3 separate regions of the Homo sapiens genome follow, and all the other regions are linked to region 1. The links are contacts of gene promoters, found by promoter capture Hi-C in human tissues and cell types (Jung and others, 2019). All regions are on one chromosome and are shown on one strand. Each heading gives the region's core, a stretch centred on a gene start or on the middle of the fragment in contact. The rest is flanking DNA. Distances are from core to core; before and after follow the strand shown. Region 1 holds the start of RASGEF1C (RasGEF domain family member 1C). Region 2 has its middle 42 kb from the start of CNOT6. Region 3 overlaps RNF130 (ring finger protein 130).

Region 1 (4,803 bases), core at 1,477-3,976:
ACATCGGTGGTGGGAATGCAAAACGGTGCTACCTCTTGACAAGGAATTTGGGACTAGCTAACAAAATAAATCCACATTCACTCCTACTTCTAGAAGTGTGTTCTAAATATACACCTTTGCAAACATTAACAATATAGGTGCAAAGTTATCCATTACTCCATTATTTTAAATTTAAAAAGACTTGGAAAAAAACAAAATTGTTCATCCAGAGGACATAATTTGAATAAACAATAATAGTACAGCCACAGAACGAAATACTATGTGAGTGTAAAAAAGAATGAGCCAGGTCTCCATGAACTGGTAAGAAGTTACTTTCAGGACATACTTCTAACTGAAGAAAAACCAGGAGCTGTACGGCTAACTTTTGTGATAATGCTTAAATGACTTGTTTTGCAGAAAGAGACACAGGAAGGATAAACCAGAAAATATTTTAAATGGCTCCCAATGGTGTGGGAACAAGGAAGAAGATGCAGGGGTGGGACTGAGACCTTTAAGGATAGCTTTTTAATAGTTCTGACCTTTAAACCATGTGTTTTACGTATTCAAAAAATAAAATTACATCCTAAAGTCTAAAGGAAAAAAAGCTCCAAATTGAATGCAAGTAGAAACACACGAAGCTAACAGTGTGTCCGACTGATAACGTCACCACACAGCACTCTGCCTGCACACCCGTGGAAATCCCGATGCTGACCTAGCAGGTTTTGGTTGGCTTCGGTGTGGATGCAGTCATTCTGAAACTCTTTCGGGGTGCATTGTGGAGCTAAGTAAATGATGAAATATATTCATGTTTGGGGGAATAAGGTTCTCACTGCAGGAGAAAGGGAAAGGAAATATTAATTTTTAGTAAAAAAGGGGCCTTGGCTTGGTCCACTGACAAGGCCTAGAGGCGGCGAGTGCACGCCCCACACTAAGCCCGGGTCCCACGCAAGGAACCAAGGCCCCTTGGACAAATGGCTGACTCTGGATCTGGGTCCAGGTACAAGTGAGAGCTGGAACCACCTCAGAGACTGGCGGGGACATGGCAGGAGGGTGCAGACCCCGGCCTGAAAAGGGCCAGGTCCCGGGCAGGGCCCCACCTCTACCTGGTGGCCTGCGGGCTCCCCCTCGCCAGTCCCGCCCTGGGCTCCGCAGCCCGTCCCTCTCTCGCCTGCCCTCCCTCTCCTGCCCCGGCAGTGCGCCCACCCGCCGCCACGGGCAGCCTTTCGACGCCCAACCTGCAAACCGCCTGGGGGCTGCCCAGGACGTCCAGACCCTGTAGCGTCTCAGCTCCAGCTCCGCCCCCTCCTGCCCTCAGGGATCTCACCCGCGCTGTTCCCCCGGGCTACCCGTCCATCACAGGCTGGGCTCCCCGCTCAGGACAGCCTCCCTGACCAGACGAAGGCTCCGCCGCGCCCTGGTCTCCCTCTGCCCCAGTCACCCTACTGCATGTTCTTCCCAGCACGCATAAGATCTTGGCCATGTCCTTGCTTTTGCCTTTGATTTCTTGTTTGGTGTCCCCTCCCACACCAGCTAGTGAGCACTTACGGGGGCAGGCAGCAGGCGGCACACAGTAGGCGCTCAATGAATGTGGCCAGTGAGTGGACAACCCTAGCCCCCCTCCACCGGTCGCCTGCACAGTGGCTGCACTATGGCTGTTGGAGCCAGTCTTACCAGAGGTGGGACCCCAGCGTTGCCACTCCATGGTCCCGCCCCTCTCTAAACCTCAGTTACTCCACCTGCCTGGCAGGCAGAGCTTCCCAGGACTCTTCTCAGGCTCCCGGGGCTCAGAACTTCTGTCTCTCCCACAGCCCCAGGAGGCAGGAGATACGGGCCCGGAAGAGCTCCACCAGCACCCCAACTTCCCAGCTCTGTCTTTCCCACAGTTTCCCACGCCCACGCTGAGCATGGGGCGGCGTCGCCAGCACCCTTCCCCAAGTCCCCCCAAGCATCGCTTTCCCAATCTAAATACAATGAGTGGACCAGGTGGTCCCTTGATGCCGTCCGCTGTCACTGCGTGAGGGACACACCCAGGACTCCCAGCAGACCCCACTGTTCTCGCAGGCCCTCTGATAGTGGCGCTGGTCCTTTCCTCAAATCCGATCCCATCCTCAAGGGTGACAGCACCCTCTTCCCCCAGGCGCAAGGCCCTTTCCCTTCTGCACGTGCACCGGCAGGTCTGCTTTCCCGTCCCCATTTCATAGACGGGGAAACTGAGGTCCGGTGCGGGTGGAGGCTTTGGTCTAGGCTGGCTCTTCCTGCCACTCTAGCGGCTGAAAGAAGCTTGCTCCTCGCGCCCAGCAGGGGCTGGCGGCGCGCGGCAGAGCTGGGTCTCCCGCCAGGTGGCCGGGGGTGTGCCCTCAGGGTACCCTACCCGCTACCCCCGCGCCTCCAGTCCCGGCGGCCGCGCGGACCCCGCCCCTGCTGACCCCGGCGCACGCTCCCGCGCCGCGCGCAGCCTCCCGCCTCCCGCCGACCCCGCCGCGCCGCCGGCAGCCCTCCCCAGCCCCCGCGAGCCCGCGCCCTTGCCCGCACCGCCAGGTGTCCCTCGGCCGCGCACCACTCACCGGCTCCCGGCGCGCCGGAACTCCGGGCCCGGCCCATGGGCAGCTCCCGGTGCGAGCCTCGGCGCCGCGGACCGGGGCGCCGCCCGCCGCCGCCGCCGCCGCCGCCGCCGCCGCCGCCGCCGCCCGACCGCCCGGCTCCCAGCGCAGCCCGCACGAGCGCCTGGCGGCGGCCCCGGAGCAACGCGGCGCTGCGCCCCCTCGTGGCACTCAGGCAGCGCGGAGCGGGCGGGGCGCGGGGGTGGAGCTGCGGGAGCCCGCGGGCGGCGCTGCACACCAGGGCCCTCCGTGCCCCGGCCGCGGAGCCAAGCGTCCCGCCCTGCGTTCAGGCCTCCGCGGCGGCTGGCCCCCCGCGCCAGGACCACCCGCTCGGGCCGTCAGACGCTGCCCTCCCGCGCGCGGACCCTGGCGGACTCTGCGCCCCAGCTGCCCCAGCCTACACCTCACCTGGTGGGCCTCTGGCGCCCCAAAACCCAGTTCACCCTCTCTCCTCAAGACTGGGCCCGGCCCGGTTCTCTGGACTGGCCACCTAGGTTGTCTGTGTCCCCCAATGGGACATCCCTGGGTGGACACCCCCCCTCCCCAACCTTCTCGGCGCTCTCCCGTGGCCCCCAGGGAGGGTGGACACCACTTTGAAGACACCGGGGTTCTGGGAGGATGGCGATGCATGATTTCACTTTTAGAAAGGGAGAGGGGCTCTAACAGGATCCAGTGGCCTCCTTGAACTGGGTCTTCAGTGAAAAGTTCCCTGGTTGGTCCCAGCATAGAGGTCAGGACACCTGTCCTCCTGTGTCCGCAGTTTGTCCCTTCCGCTGGGTTCCTGGTCTGGCTGACTTCAAGAATGAGCCAGGGACCTTGGCAGTGAGTGTTACAGCTCTTAAAGGTGGTGCGACGGTGAAACCCTGTCTGTACTAAAAATACAAAAAAATTAGCCAGGTTTGGTGGTGGGCGCTTGTGGTCCCAGCTATTCGGGAGGCTGAGGCAGGAGAAGGGCGTGAACCCGGGGAGGTGGAGCTTGCAGTGAGCAGAGATTGCACCACTGCACTGTAGCCTGGGCGACAGAGCAAGACTCCATCTCAAAAAAAAAAAAAAAGAAAAGAAAAGAAAAAGGTGGTGCAGACCCAAAGAGTGCGTAGCAGCAAAATGTCTTGTGAAGAGCAAGAGAACAAAGCTTCCACAGCAGGGAAAAAGACCACAGCCGGTCGCCGCTGTTGCTGGCTGGCGAGGGGTGGGCGGGCAGCTTTTATTCCCTTATTTGTCCCCACCCATGTCCTGCTGATTGGTCCGTTTCACGGAGTGCTGATTGGTGCGTTTTTACAGAGTGCTGATTGGTGCATTTACAATCCTCTAGCTAGCCAGAAAAGTTCTCCAAGTCCCCACCCGACACGGAAGTTCCAGCTGCCTTCACCTCACTCTGCTTTAGTCAGGACCTGCCTGATGAGATGTGGCCCAAAACTCAACCCAACCAGCTTGAGCAAAAAGCTGGTTTGTGGATCATAAAAAGCCAAGGTTTACTGCTTAGAGGAATGGCTAGATCCAGGTACTTAACCTATGTGCATAGAAACTGGCCTCCCCTATCTCCCAGTCTTTCTGTGGCAGAATGGCCCTGGGTTGACACCTCAGAGAGGGCACAGCTGCCTGATAGTTGCAAGGACAGCCTGCGGCTGCCACACACAGGCTCCGAGGAGCTGAGCTCAGGCCATTTCCAAAGACCTAGGGAGCAGGAATAGCAGGCCTGGGTGTCGTCTCACTAGAGCTGAGGCAGAGTTAGTCCTGTGTCAGCTTTGAGGATGGAGTAAGGTGCTGTTCCAAGCTTCCGTGAAGGCTGTTCCTGGAAGAATGGACAGGTTAAGAACAACAGTCCAGCCCATTTCTTGAACAGTTAGGGAAACTGAGTCCTGGAGAGAGCAGGCAGCTGCCTAGGGCATACAGATGTATTAGAATGAATGTGGGCCAGGTAGCTAGGCAGGGAGACAGCAGGGCTGGGGCCAGGGCCAGGGCCAGAGGCTGGCCCTAGGGAGGGTGACATCTGAGACCAAGGGTCAGGTGTGGGGAAAGGGAGGAGGAACAGAGGCAGGCACTTGGTCAGGGGTGAGCAGTGTGCTCCCAGCAGATAGACAGATGCGCCTCAGGGTGCAGGCACTGGGCCCTCCCTGCATCTTCTCCGATTATCACCCTATGCCCCTAAGCCTCAGGTCCAGTCCCAGGGTGTCGCCTGGAGGAAGCCAGGAGTCTAGGAGGAGAGGCCGCAAGAGGCACCTCA
Region 2 (4,803 bases), core at 1,473-3,972, 240 kb after region 1:
TATTTCTGATGAGAATGACACGGTCATTCCTACTGTTGTCTTCCTATATGTACTGCATCCTTTTCTTCTGACTTCTTTCAAGATATTCTATTTATTTTTTGTTTTTAGCAATTCCAGTTTAATGTGGCTAGGGGTGTATGTTCATACTGCTTGGAGTTTATTGAGCTTTTCGGATATATGGATTGTCATTTTCATCAAAATTAGAAAAAATTTGGCACCATTTTTTCAAATATTTTTCTGCCCCAATATAACATATCTCCTTCTAAGGATCTAATTACTTTTGCCTTAGAGTGCTTGATAGGTCCCGAAAGCTCTATTCTTTTTGTATTTCTCTGTGTGCTTTAAATTGGATAGTTTTTATTGACCTGCCTTCAGATTTGCTAATCCTTTCTTTGCACTATTCATTTTCCTAAGTCCATCCTGTGAAGTTTTAATTTCCGATATTGTATCAGTTAGTTCTAGAATTTCTAATTTTTCTTTTTCACACTTTCATTTTTGTGCTAAGTCCCCATCTGTTTACTATTTCCATGCTTTTCTTTAAATCCTTGAATAATTTCTAGTGATAGCTGGTCAAAAAACCTTAGCTGCCAATTTTATAATCTTTGTCATCTTTGGATTTGTTTCTATTAACCCTTTCTTTCTCTCTCTCTTTTTTTTTTTTTTTCGAGACAGAGTCTCACTCTGTTGCCCAGGTTGGAGTGCAGTGGCGCAATCTTGGCTCACTGCAACCTCTGTCTCCTGGGTTCAAGTGATTCTCCTGCCTCAACCTCCTGAGTAGCTAGGATTACAGGTGCACGCTACCACGTCTGGCCAATTTTTGCATTTTTAGTAGAGACCGGGTTTCACCATGTTGGTCCGGCTGGTCTCAAACTCCTGACCTTGTGATTCACCCACCTTGGCCTCCCAAAGTGCTGGGATTACAGGCGGGAGCCACTGTCCCCGGCCGCTTTTTCTCTTCATGGGCTTCTGCTACTTCCTATATGTGTAGCAATTTTTTATGGTATGTTGGACGTTGTTATGCTACCTTATTATCAGTCTAGATTATGTTGTTTTCCTTTAAAGAGTGTTTTTGGTTTACCTTTATGGCATCTCATATGAATGCTTGTCATTCAGCAAATTCGTTCTATTTGAGTTGTTTGAAATACAATTTTTTTCCAATGTTATGTGACCTCTGAAATCAATTCAGTTCGGTTTCCCAGTAGTTTTTCTCTCATTGGCCTCACAGAATATTTTCCTGAGCATTCCAGCTTAGTATTTGGCTGGAGTCAACAGAAGCACTATGCATCTTGCTCAGTTTCTTCTTTGCACAAGTCCTTCCTCTCTCTTACTCTGCCCCATAAATTCCAGCCACTGCAGCAGCTCTAAAGTCTAATCTCCATGTCCTTTACTCAATAAGGCCAATGCCTCCTGTCTCAGCCACAGTTTATTGTTTGGAAAGTTCTCCCAGGCAGAGAGCTGGGAGTAATATGGAGCTTATCACATGTGTTTCTCTTCTTTCAAAGTCACATTTCTGTAGTTTTACTCCATATATTTTCTACAGTATTACTGCTGCCTAAAACACAAAGCTGAATCCAACTCTTGTTTCTCTGTCATGGCTAGAACTGAAAATCCTCCATCCTATTTTTCCCCATGGCTGAATGTGAATGGATTGTTAAAGATTACCACACATTTGAGGAAAGCTTCTTATGTCAAGTCTAGAGACCAAAACTAACAGGCAAACAAACAAACAAGAGCTTGAATGAGGCAGAAACCACACATGGAAAGAAAGGCTTTAAAAATAAGCCTCTTATTAATATCCCCAGGGAGGTAGTGCATCCATGATTCAAGAACAGAATTTTATATTTTAATAAAAGAGTGAGACCAGGCGTGGTGACTCACACCTGTAATCCCAGCACTTTGGGAAGCCGATGCAGGCAGATCACGATGTCAGAAGTTTGAGACTAGCCTGGCTAACACGGTGAAACCCCATCTCTACTAAAAATACAAAAATTAGCCGGGCGTGGTGGTGCACGCCTGTAATTCCAGCTACTCGGGAGACTGAGGCACAAGAATCACTTGAAGCTGAGGTGGAGGTTGCAATGAGCTGAGACTGCACCACTGTACTCCAGCCTGGGTGACAGAGGAAGACTCTGTCTCTAAATAAGTAAATAAATAAATAAAAATAAAATAAAAGGGTGAGAAACGACAGAGAAAAAAACTGCTTTTAGAAAATAAAAACATGGGCCGGGTGCAGTGGCTCACGCCTGTAATCCCAGCACTTTGGGACGCCAAGTCGGGTGGATCACCTGAGGTCAGGAGTTCAAGACCAGCCTGGCCAACATGGTGAAACCCCCGTCTCTACTAAAAATACAAAAAATTAGCTGGGCGTGGTGGTGCACGCCTGTAATCCCAGCTGCTCAGGAGGCTGAGGCAAGAGAATCACTTGAACCTGGGAGGCGGGGTTGCAGTGAGCCGAGATCACACCACTGCACTCCAGCCTGGGCAGCAAGAGTGAAACTCAGTCTCAAAAATAAATAAATAAATAAATAAATAAATAAATAAATAAATAAAATACAAAATTAGCTGGGTCTGGTGGCACACGCCTGTAGTCTCAGCTACTAGGGAGGCTGAGACAGGAGAACTGCTTGAACCCAGTGAGAGGTGAAGCCAGCTGGACTTCCTGGGTGGAGTGGGGACTTGGAGAACTTTTCTCTCTTACAAGAGTATTGTAAAATGCACCAATCAGCACTCTGTAGCTAGGATTGTAAAACTCACCAATCAGTGATCTGTAGCTAGCAAGAGGATTGTAAAATGCACCAATCAGTGCTCTGTAAAAACGCACAAATCAGTGCTCTGTAGCTAGCAAGAGGATTGTAAAATGCATCAATCAGTGCTCTGTAAAATGCACCAATCAGTGCTCTGTAAAATGCACCAATCAGCAGGATCCTAAAAGTAGTGAATTGCAGGGAGGATTGAAAAAAGGGCACTCTGATAGGACAAAAACGGAACATGGGCGGGGACAAATAAGGGAATAAAAGGTGGCCATCCCCCCAGCCAGGAGCAGCAACCCTTTGGGTCTCCTTCCAGTTATGGAAGCTTTGTTCTTTCACTCTTCACAATAAACCTTGCTACCGCTCACTCTTTGGGTCATGGCATCTTTAAGAGCTGTAACACTCACCTTGAAGGTCCACGGCTTCGTTCTTGAAGTCAGCCACACCAGGAACCCACCGGAAGGAACCAACTCCAGACATACCGGGCGACAGAGGCTGCAATGAGCTGAGATCGCGCCACTGCACTCCAGCTTAGGTGAGACAGAGCGAGACTCCATCTCAGAAAAGAAAAACATCACAAAAATATAAAGGTCAACAGACAGATGGAAAATATGAGGGGCACAAAAGATTTTAAAATTTCTAATCCAGTGCAAGAAGTCTAATATCTGAATAACAGGAGTTTCAGAGAAAACAGGAGCCAGAGATACCAAATAAATAGTCAAGAAGCTACCAGAAGCCTAAGCCTCGAGAATAAAAAAAAGCACTGCCCAGAACAAGTGCTCTGCACAACGGATGAAAACACACCAACACTAAAGCACATCACTAGGAAATGTTAGCTCATTGAATGAAAAGCACATATTTTATATGCTCCCAGATAGAAAGAAAAAAAACAGCTTCCATGAAAGAAAGATCAATCAGAATGCTTCAGATGTCTTCACAACAGCTCTGGAAGGAAGCAAGCATCTTCAGAATTATAGGGAAAAACAACACTCCCAACTTAGATGTGTATATCCTAGAAAGCCACCAATCATGTATAAGGGTAGATTAAAGACATTTGCAGACATACAGGTTCTCAAAATAATTATCTCCCATGCTTCTGGTTTCTAGAAGCTACTATGGAATGTGTTAATAACACAGTGGGGGGAAAAAACAGAAAAGAGGAGTCATAGAGTCCAAGAAAGAGAGGCTCTAGCTCAGGAGTGAGGCAAAGGAGAGGCCCTGGGGGATGGTGACAGGAGGCACCTGAGTGAAAGCTAGTACCAGGCACGAGGGCCACCCATCCAGACGAGCAAAGCAGGAGTCCTCAGAAGAGAGTTCCTCAATAAGTTAAATCTGCAAAGGCATCCAATGTGTTTTTATGCAATTGAAAGTAGATTTATCTCACCAGGGAAAAGTTTGGGGATAAAATTAGTGAAAAGTGGCCGGGTGCAGTGGCTCACACCTGTAATCCCAGCACTTTGTGAGGCTGAGGCAGTTGGATCTCCTGAGGTCAGGAGTTTCAGACCATCCTGGCCAATGGGATGAAACCCCGTCTCTATTAAAAATACAAAAATTAGCCAGGCGTGGTGGCAAGTGCTGGTAATCCCAGCTACTCAGAAGGCTGAGGCAGGAGAATCACTTGAACCCGGGAGGTGGAGGCTGCAGTGAGCCGAGATGGCACCACCTGCACTCCAGCCTGGGCAACAGAGTGAGACTCCATCTCAAAAAAAAAAAAAATAGTGATAAGTACATAGAGATATAGATGACAGTCACTGCCTCTAGTACAGACAAAAGCTGTTCTATGACATGGAAAGTAATTACAGTACCACATGGTTCAGCTGTGAATAGCATTTACATAGTCACAATGCCATTACTCTGGAATAGCAATCTAGCCAAAATGCCAGTAAAACTGCATATACTTGGGAAGATGAGGGATTAAAAATGGGTGGGGGGGTTAGGGACACAGCGGGAAGGAAAGAGCCTGATTTTCATCTTGGATTGTGGAAACACAATAAATGCAGCTTAAAATGGAACAACCAAGAAGCAGAATAGAAGCTGCTATTTAGAGATATGG
Region 3 (4,803 bases), core at 1,168-3,667, 160 kb before region 1:
TTTGATTTAGTAAAACCTCATTTCTTAGAAATGTAAACACGCCACATAAGAAGCACTCACCATGTTGTGTAGGCTAAGGGTTTCCTTCCTACCCCTGAGAATTGTCAGTCTGCTGCAGGGGCAGAAGTGATAGCCTCGGACAGTATTTTTCTGCAGTGATGGTCAAAACAGGCGGCCGCACAGCACAGTGGCAAAGATGTGCCTCTCCCTCTCAGAGCCTGTGTGTGTCACTTCATCCTCCTGAAATGCCAGTCCCACCACTCTTGCTCACCACCTTCTGAGCCTCAGGATTCTGCCAAAATGTCTTCTCCAGAACGCTTTCCCAGCCTCCTAAGACTGAGTTGGGTGCTTTTTTCAAGTTGCCATGGCACCCTTAGGTTACATCCATCTTGGCATTTATCATACTGTATTAGTAACTGGCTGTTTACTTCTGAGGCTTTCCTTCCGGAATGTGAGGTCTAGCATCTCCTGCGAATATGTCTGGCACATAGATGTTTAACATGATTGATGAAGGAAAAGGGGAAAAACAACAGGGAAATTAAGCCAAAACTGGCATTAAAAAAAAGTTTGTGGCAAAGAGTTCTCTGTTTCACGTGGTAATATCCTGACTACGGTAATGTTCTATCAGTTGCTTCCTACAAAAGAGGTAAAAATAAAAATGAGACTAATTAGTTACCCCGGATTTAGATTCCTCCATTGTCAGCTATGGTCTGGTTGCTTTCCTACTCCTGAATTAGATTATAATTTCTTTATTCTTTAAATTTCCTGCTTCTACCCTATCTTTCCTTATTTTCCTTTGTCAAATTCTAATTTTATGATTCAAAGAAAAAATACAATTCATCATTTCTGTTATCAATTTCTTAATTTTATTTTTAATGGCAGCTACTGGACTTAGGTGGAGCTTTCATTCTCTTTATCCACTTCCATGGATATAACTTATTATTTTACTGCTTCTACACTTTCACTTAAACCTAACATTTCTTTTTATTACTTAGCTTCATTGGGTGTTTAGTCTTATTGAAAATGTTTTTTTCTGGCCCGGCGTGGTGGTTCATAGCTGTCATCCCAGCACTTTGGGAGGCCAAGGCAGGCAGATCACCTGAGGTCGGGAGTTCAAGACCAGCCTGACCAACATGGTGAAACCCTGTCTCTATTAAAAATACAAAATTTAGCTTGGCGTGGTGTGTAGGCCTGTAATCCTAGCTACTCGGGAGGCTGAGGCAGAAGAACTGCTTGAACCTGGGAGGCAGAGGTTGCAGTGAGCCGAGATTGCACCACTCCACTCCAGCCTGGGCGACAGAGTGAGACTCTGTCTAAAAAAATAAATAAAATAAATCTCAGGCCACTCTTTGTTCTCCAAACTGGCCTGCCCCAGCCAAGCGCTCTCCTCTCTCCACTCCCACGTCCCACTTCCTCCAGGCTTTCCTCCTGCACTACCACAGTCATTCTTTGGGTCTTTACTGCCTCTTCTTCCTCCAGTCGAACCTTCAATACTGACGCTCCCGAGTACTCTGCCTTCCCTGGCGTGGGCCCAGGACTCTCCAGGGTTCATGTTCACCATGTCAACAGCACACTTTTTTTTTTTTTATTGGAACAACAATGCTTACTAACATCTCATGCTGAGCAGCCCTCTTCTGAGAAATTATTTTTCATTTTTACTTCTATGAACCCAGTTTCTAATAGACACAGCTAAATCAGGTCAACAGCATGCTAAGAATCGGGAGAGGAAAGTGGAAAATTACACACACAGAAGGGAATTCATTCCCTTCCATTCCAAGCAAAACCTCTGCCTTGATGAGTTAATAGGAGTTCTCCAAGATTTCAACTGGTTTACATGGAAGGGGCACGGAAGGGAGTCTGTAGTCCGGTTTACGGCAAATCACTCTGTATCTAATTTGTCTGTTTCCAGGTTGCTCTGCCCTGCTTCTAGGCTAGAGGATGATATTATTATCAAAGGCTACAGGATTAACCTCCGAATCTAGGCAATTTCTGCTTGACTCACATAGGAAGAACCAGTGTTCCATGTAACAAAATCAATGACTTAGATTGATTAAAAATAATGAGGCCAGGTGCGGTGGCTCATGCCTGTAATCCCAGCACTTTGGGAGGCTGAGGTGGGAGAATCCCTTGAGCCCAGGAGTTGAAAGCTACAGTGAACTGGGATGGCGCCACTGCACTCCACCCTGGGAGGCAGAGAGAGATGCTATCTCAAAAACGGGAAGAGGGAATTTATCCTGTCTCAGAACAGGGCTGTATTTTGCGGTGAAGAATTCAGCACCTCAGCAGTGTCACCAGGATCTGGTTCCTTTTCATCTCTTCCCTTTGCCATCTGTAGCTTCAGCTTCATCCTAAGAGTCCCCTCTTTATCATAAGATGACTGCCAGCAGCAAATGAAGTCACACAGCTCCCTGTTCATATTCAGTGGGAGACAGAAAAAGCCAACCCTCCAGGTATGTAATTTAAGCTCTTCACTTCTGTGCAGCTCACCCTAGGTCATTTATCCTTCTGTGCCCCACACCCTCTTCTGGGACTCAAACAGGTGTCACTTAAAGCATGTGGCTGCATGGAAGTGATCACAGATGCCTGAATTACATAAGGTTTCTGTTTTCTGTTTTAAATAAGCAGAGGCTGGTAGGCAATTAACAGCTCACTTCAAACCTCAAGGTAACCTTATACAGTGGCTCTTAATTCATCAGAATCCACACTTGGCAATTCAAACCCACCAAAAAGGACAAAACCCAAAAAGAAAGCTTCTTTGGTTTCCAAGCGCTTTGACACAGGGAGACAGCTAAGGTACCACCCCTCTGCCTCCTTCCCTCACTCGAGGGAAACATGAGCTATTTGGGAGTGGAGAGCCCCACTTGAAGATCAGCAGCTACAGCAAGCATTCTTGACAAGGCTCTGGGGATAGAATTCAGGGCTGAGTGACATTTGGATGAGGGGAAATCATCTTTATTTCTGCTAAAATCTAACTGAAATCTAGCATTTTATTTATTTATAAACACAGATAACAAACCATCTGTAACTCTGTAACCAGCAGCAACCACATTACAGTTATTGCAAATACTGCAAAATACTGATAAGGTGATTAGGCCCACCACTGAATCCTGTCCCTAATGTTAACTGTACAAGTATTACCATGTCACAGACATGTTAAGTATTTTAAATACTTTGATACATTGTTTCAGTATACTTGGGTTTCTTTAATCCTATTTACTCCTGCACTTAACACTATTCTGAGAAGCAGCCCACAGGTTAAATCAGACTGCAAAAGGAGTCTCAACTGCCACGCTTAGTCTATTTGCATATGTATATGATATAGCTGGATTCATCTCTATTATTTTATTGTGTTCTTATTTATTCTACTTTTCTAAGCTTCTTTATACTTTTTTTCCCTCTCCTTTCTGCCTCTGAATATATTGACCGAATTTCATTTCCCCCTTTTCCTCATCTATATATTCAAGTTCTATTTTTTTAGTGCCTACCCTTAAAATGTTAACATGCATACCTGATAAAAGGTCTACAATTAATCAGTACCTCTATTCTCCTCCTGAATACCTCAAGGCTCTTAGTTTCCTAGGGCTGCCAGAACAAAGTACCACAAGCATGGTGGCTTAAACAACAGAAATGTATTCTCCCACAGTTCTGAAGGCCAGAAGTCCAAAATCAAGGTGTAGGCAGGGCCACTCTCCCTATGTCTAGCTCTATCTAGTTATTTCTTTATACAGATATGTAGATACAAAGGGATTTATTATAAGGAATTGGCTCTGGCAATTATGGAGACAGACAAATCCCAAGCTCTGCAGGGTGAGCTGGCAGGCTGGAGACCCAGCAGAGCCGATGGAGTTCCAGGCCAAAGACCAGCAGGCTCCGCGCCCACAAGAGTCAAAGGTCTCAGCCATAAGGCAGTCAGGCAGGAGGAAACCCCTCTGACTCCAGGGAGTGTCACTTTTTTGTTCTATTCATGCCATCAGTGGAATGGATAAGACCCACCCACATTATGGAGAGCAATCTGCTTTATTCGGTCTACCCATTCAAACGTTAACCTCGTCCAAAACCACCCTGACCGAAACACAAGAATTCTCTCAGGATACTGTCTGACCAAGTATGTGGGCACCTGTGGCCCAGTCAAGGTGAAACATAGAATTCACCATCACAGTCCTCCTCACAGCTCACTTTTTTCCTTCTGTGTTCCATTTCCCTCCTCCTTATTCTACATCCTTCAGAAGTTCTTTCAATGAGGATCTGTTAGGTAAACTTGTATTTTACATCTGAAAACATCTTTCTTTTGTTCTCATTCTTGAGTGACAGGTTAATTAAGTAAAAAATTCCAGACTGTTAATTTTCTCTCAGCACTTCGGGGTTGTTCTTGCACTGTCCTTTTTATTTTTATTTTTGGAGACAGGGTTTCACTCTGTCGCCCAGGGTGGAGTGCAGTGGCACAATCAGAGCTCACTGCTCAACTTCCTGGGCTCAAGTAATCCTCCCACCTCAGCATCCTGAGTAGCTGGGACTACAGGCATGCACCACCATGCCTGGCTAATTTTTGTATTTACCCCAACATGAGGTCTCACTATGTTGCCCAGGCTGGTCTCGAACTCCTGAACTCAAACAATCTGCCCACCTCGACCTCCCAAACTGCTGGGATTACAGGCGTAAGCCACCAAACCTGGCCAATTCTAGTACTTTTAAAAAGTAAACTAAATGTGTTTCTTGTTTTTCTCCTAATTGACAATTCTTACAATTACCAATTGTAAATAAAAAGGTGATACATTCTTACAACAAATTATCACCTTTTTGTAT

Evidence for each region. Contacts are between HindIII fragments. The study calls those that stand out against the background at their distance.
Region 2: a contact is called between a fragment that was not itself captured here and the fragment with the promoter of RASGEF1C in region 1, in 2 of the 25 tissues and cell types used here (H1 embryonic stem cells and pancreas).
Region 3: a contact is called between a fragment that was not itself captured here and the fragment with the promoter of RASGEF1C in region 1, in 2 of the 25 tissues and cell types used here (H1 embryonic stem cells and dorsolateral prefrontal cortex).

What each region holds. Positions count from the first base shown.
Region 1 is chr5:180,206,485-180,211,287 of GRCh38, forward strand. It overlaps RASGEF1C (RasGEF domain family member 1C), which reads right to left and starts at 2,727. Exons shown (of 14, transcript NM_175062.4): 1 at 2,544-2,727. RefSeq lists an enhancer at 726-1,518 and a silencer at 2,643-2,862. The HindIII fragment of the contact is 4,624 bases long and covers 1-4,032 here.
Region 2 is chr5:180,450,362-180,455,164 of GRCh38, forward strand. No RefSeq gene overlaps it. Among named protein-coding and RNA genes, the nearest start is that of CNOT6, 42 kb to the right of the region's middle. The HindIII fragment of the contact is 6,084 bases long and covers 1-4,803 here.
Region 3 is chr5:180,046,428-180,051,230 of GRCh38, forward strand. All of the region lies in intron 1 of RNF130 (ring finger protein 130), which reads right to left. Among named protein-coding and RNA genes, the nearest start is that of RNF130, 23 kb to the right of the region's middle. The HindIII fragment of the contact is 4,639 bases long and covers 99-4,737 here.